Regions from separate parts of the Homo sapiens genome. Here region 2 is linked to region 1. Evidence: promoter capture Hi-C in 16 types of primary human blood cells and fetal thymus (Javierre and others, 2016). All regions are on one chromosome and are shown on one strand. The core of a region is centred on a gene start or on the middle of the fragment in contact, and the rest is flanking DNA. Distances in the headings are between cores, read along the strand shown.

Evidence for each region. Contacts are between HindIII fragments. The CHiCAGO score rates a contact against its expected background, and 5 or more counts as called.
Region 2: a contact is called between a fragment that was not itself captured here and the fragment with the promoter of GLIPR1L1 in region 1, in 1 of 17 cell types (neutrophils). The highest score is 6.5, in neutrophils.

What each region holds. Positions count from the first base shown.
Region 1 is chr12:75,333,329-75,336,028 of GRCh38, reverse strand. It overlaps GLIPR1L1 (GLIPR1 like 1), which reads right to left and starts at 1,359. Exons shown (of 6, transcript NM_001304964.2): 1 at 1,127-1,359. The coding sequence starts at 1,300. It also overlaps a transcript of CAPS2 not described here. RefSeq lists a silencer at 1,513-1,622. The HindIII fragment of the contact is 15,549 bases long and covers 1-2,700 here.
Region 2 is chr12:75,820,724-75,823,423 of GRCh38, reverse strand. The region is part of intron 1 of LOC105369844 (a long non-coding RNA gene); the gene reads left to right. Among named protein-coding and RNA genes, the nearest start is that of PHLDA1-AS1, 210 kb to the left of the region's middle. The HindIII fragment of the contact is 5,786 bases long and covers 1-2,700 here.

The DNA.
Region 1 (2,700 bases), core at 110-2,609:
ACTCCACAATTCATTGTTATCATATTTTGCTTTAAATAGTCAATGAGTACAAAAGAAATATAAAGAACATTTATTATATTTAACCCCACATTTACTCTTTTTTATCATACATTTACAATAAAACTCTAAAGGCATCAACCATATTAATACTAATATTAGTATTTCTGAATTCCGTTGAAGATTTATTTCTAGTTAATTTATGCCTTGGACAACCCCAAGCTGGTAAACATTATATATTAAAATATCTTAACAATTCTGCATTAAAGAGATTAGTTTATTCTTGTTTCATTTCTGATACATATTTGAATCTTTCTCCATCAAAATATAATTTTCTTATACAGTAGACTAGTACAGTTTTGAACTTATTTTAATGCCTGAGTTGTGATTTTATAATTACTTTTGTTTTCCACTGGATAGAAAAGAAGAAAGCTGGAATAGATATGAGTTATACTGTATCTACATCTGCATAGCACATAAAATAGACTAATACTATCAACGTTTATGCTCATAGTGATGCATTTATAAACAAGAAAAAGTTACAATGCAAGGGAAATTTCCAATCATACAATTCATAGTCAAGTATTTAAAATTTTGTAAATTCTATGGATTATTTAATAATCCAATGCTTTTTATGCTTATTCTTCAATAGAGTACTGTATTTTTTTCAAATAATACTACACATGAAGTGTTGTTTTGATCTTGGATTCATATGATATAAAAATAAGTAAGAGAACAAGAGAATCTCCATTCCTGGGCTATTTCTTTGGTATCTTGTATCTTGGTTGTGGGGGGTGGAAATTGCTAGCTAAAAAATGGAAGAAAGAAAACAAAATAATCCTGTGTTCAGTACTTATAACTTTAGTGGTGCAACAAAGCAACTTCCAAACACTGCTCCAGCATCCCCACCTTCCCCGCAAGAGGCAAGGAACAGCTTCAAGTCTTCCTTTCTTGTTCACTCCTATGACTCTGGAGGAGACAGCCCAACCAAGGTGTGAATTTTTTTCTTTTTAACTGCATATATGTAAAGTCCGGATTGAATTAGTACAAGTTAAGTCCGTGAAATTTATCACCCAGATACCTCAGGATGAGTCAGGGATTTAAGAGCCCAGCCCTGGTTCTTTCTCACCATGTATTTCATGTCGGCCGCGGGAGGGTTGACTTTGCCACGCCATTCGTTGTGGGCTTCTATGCAGTTGTCTATAAAGTGTGGGTCAGTGATGGATGGGATTTTGGAAGATGTAGTGGCTACCAAACACAGACCCAAGATCCATAAACAACTGAATTTATTCTTCAGAGCCATGGAAGGATGTGGAGGATGCGGAGGATGCCCTGACTGCGCGGACCAGTAACGGCTGGGGCAACCCGATTTCCCCACGCCCCCGCACCACGCTCTCCCTTGGCTCCATCCTGCCGCACAGGCTCGAGCCCAGCGCGGCTGGATCAACTTGTCAGTGTCGCTGTGGGGAAGAACAGGCAGCAGGGTTCCCCTTCCACAAAGCTCTGAGCTACAGGGGAAAGCTCTGAGTCGCCCTCTGGTGGAGGGAATTTCAACCATCCAAACTGCTTTCTGTGGATCCAATCTGTAATCTGCAGAGCGCGTCTGGATTGTAATACAGATTGCAATATGCAAGCCACACAAGTTAGGTAAAGAACAAGTGCGGGATGCTGACAATGGGCCAGTCGAGTGCAAAGCACTATATATTCGTTTCTTAGACGCAGCTTCCGTGTATAGATTTTTATTGTTCTAAATAATCTAGAATCATATTGCCACTTCCCTCAGAGATTGGGAATAGAGTAAGAATAGGCAATTCTTATACAGTGACATACAGTGATCCTAAATTATCAACTTGTCAAACATTTAATAATTTCCTTCTGTTTTTTCGTCTGAAGAGACCGAATGCTTAGATAGATAACAATAGATGCTTGGAAAATGTAGCCAAGTAGTTCCTCTTGACAAAATCTTCCCTTTTTGATAGTTTGGAACAGAGCCACTGTATGGTGACTGGTAGACTCCAAGAGTTGCTTTAATTGATACACTGAGACTGGGATGGACAGAGTACATTTGATTGTCTATTTTACCTGCAATGCAATATAAATCAACGTCATTTGGCTTAATGTTTTAAATTCATTACATCAGTTATATTGATATTCTGTAATAAACCAGCATTTTTCCCCATGACATTAATTTTTTTTAGTATTTCTATGTTTCAAATAAATACCTTTACTTAGTAATTTGAAGTTGTTTACAATGCTGTTTAATTCAAGTGAACACGTACTTACATCTGCTGAATGATCCGCCATAGTCAACCTTGACACAAAAAACAAAAACCAAAACAAACTACTTTGATGCAGCTACTATCTTTTTAAAAATAAAAAGCAGAAAATTAGATTATAAGAAAACGAAAAATGCAAGGATCCTAATGGAAATTCTACTGGGCAATAGATAATATATTTCTAGTCTACTACCAGCTAATGGAGAATTGCTGTATATACTACTTTCATATCACATACATAGTCCAAACTGAGCTTCTGATATCCCACACCCAAAGACATGAACATATATACGTGTGTGTGTGTGTGTATATGTGTGTGTGTAGGTATACAGATAGATAAATCAATACAGTTATATACATCTACATGTGTCTATATATATATGTCTCTTCCTGGATATAAAGATATCTATAGGCATATACACACATA
Region 2 (2,700 bases), core at 154-2,653, 490 kb before region 1:
TCCCATCCCAAGCCTGAGGTGTCCCTGTGTTTCTAATATCACATTGTGGAGACAAAGCCTGAGCTGGATACCCCAAGTTTCAGAGGAGATCTTGGAGATCATGGAGTTCTATCTTTTTCTGGCAAAAATGAAGAAACCGGGGCCTCAAGAAGTTTAATGACCTTTCCAGCATTACGTGGCCAGATAATAGAAAGGTTAATATTGGAAAGATTAAAACTGGAGGTCATATCTTGATGAGGAAAACCAGTGTTATGGCATTGGGCAGACTTTGAAGACAGAGATATGGTAGTATTTTGGGGAGAGGGAAGAAGAGGGAATTACTTAACCTCTTTGAGCTTCTCCCTATAAGCATCTTCTCTGTAAAATGTCTTCATATCTGTCTGGTGAGACGGTTGGATAATCGAATGAAGTTGTGAGCTTAGCAGAATATCTGGTGTATGGAGTGTGCTAAATAAATGATCAATTTTATAAATTTGTCTTTGAACTTTATGTCATTAGATTTAAAATAAAAGAGGACATTTGTTCCATTTTCTTTGTATTTCCAGCTGAATTTACTGCCCTTTACTAACCACCCCAGCTCAAACCTGTTTCAGAGCCCATCTGGATTGTGGTCGTGAACTAGCCCTGACACTTATAGGCTCTTGCTGCTGCAGATTTATCAGAGAAAGCCTAGAGACAGCCTTGCTCTCATCTTCGTGTCTGCTCCACCCTTGCTCCTTCCTCAGTCTGCTCCTTACACATGCCTGCCATACTCCATGTCATGCTGCCAGACATGACAGATACATTCAGCTTTCTGTCTCATTCCCTTCTAAGTATTCCTGTTTGCCCTGGCATTCCAGCCCATCTCTCACCCCAGAATCTTTGGCTGGAGCCATAACTTGGATTGGACTTGAGCCAGTCATTTCCTCCAGTCCCAGAGACATCTACGTGGGATGTTTGCCCAATGGCAGCCAATCCTAGAAGTCTCAAATGTGTCCTTACAAGTTTCTCAGTGTGTCTCCTAGGCCTAGGTGGAGCTAGGTGCCTAGAAATGCAGAGTGCTAGACAGAGGGATGTGGAATTTCATGACACGCTTGCCTCGTAGACCCCTACAATAAGTTACTCTGTTCTACGCAAGAATGTGAAAGGGTCACCTTCCTTTCTACCTGGGTCATCAGGACACCTGGGGTTTCTCTCTTATGATCTAGAGGTTGATGTCCAGTAGGAATCTCTTTGGATATCTTCAGATGATCTGGCTGGGTTTTGATCCCTGCTTTGTGTCCATCTTTCCAGTCTGTGACATGGAGTGTGGATTGCAATGGGGTCTTGCTTCTTCTCTAGCATCTGTCTTTAACAGAGAATAGACCACTCTCTGGTGACTGATAATGCAGCCTTATGGGGCAGTTATGAGATTGCAGATCAAGTTGCACCCTGATTGATTCCCCAAATGTGATTGCCTCCTTTATTTACACATGGCTTGGACTAGGAGAAATGATCTGCCTCTGTGTCCTTTCCCACAGCTTTGGACTTGGTCTTAGACTATCAGTTGTTAAGGTAAAAAAAATTATTTTTATACTGACTTGGAGATTTGACAAAAGTTCTTCTAGACACTAAGCATACAATAGATAGGGCTTTTTGTGATTTTTCCTCTTTAAGTATACAAGGCACGAAACCCTATAAAACATTACAAATTACCATACTTTCCCTGTATCAAAAATAAAAAAATTTACAGATTAACTTTTCCTTTATTCAAAATGGCACTAGTTGTAATGAGTTCCATAGTGGGGAATTATAGGCAATTGAAATATCTGCCTTGTTGAATAGAAGAAGGTGAGTAAGAACATTTATGTTGATTTTCAACCTCGAATGTTAGTCTGCGGATGTATGTGAGAAGTGGCAACACAGATCAGCTTTCTTAGCATTTATCTTGACTCTGGCTCTTAGGATGAATCACTTGTATCATAAGATTTGGGTTGCTTATCACTTCTGGAGATGCTTGTCTTTTTCTACCTACCTTTCTCTTGCCATGATCATGGGGAAGACTAGCACTATTTACTGAAATTCCAATGAGGCAATAACTTAGGAAAATGGCCATGTCAGTTATGACACCACTAAAAACCTGTTTAGTAAGAGAGCAGTTATGGGATTTTAAAAAACCATTGCAAATCACAGTCCTCCTTTAGCACTGAATCCTCCTTGACCTAATTCCCCCCCCCACCCCCGCCGCAACTCAGTTCCCCAGCTGAGCCTGTGACTTCAGCTTGTAAACTATCCTTGGCCTGGGATAGCCAATAAGGCAGCAAGATGCAGCTGTTCGACAGGGTGGCCAAAAATATAAGCGTAAAAGATGGATACATATTTTCCCTTTTTGATTGGTTTACATTTACCCCCGATTCATGAACATATTGTTTAAACTTGCTTTTCCAAAGCCCCATTAATCTTTGCTATTGGTTCGTCTCCTGTTTCCAAACATGACCTCACTCCAAGTGCCGCCCAGTGGTGAGCAACTCTGAAGTATTTTCTTTTCGCCATCCAAGAGAATCAGGGTGGAAGATTGCCGAGTTGGTGCTTGTTTAGGAGCTTTTCAAAATGAATCATTGGAGTGTGGGGATTTGATGTGGATTACTGGCCAAGTAATTATCGGAAGATATTAAGTATTGGAACTCAGGCTTTTGTATAAGTAGAATTAAAGCCCATGTCCTGGCACATGAGCTTGTCATT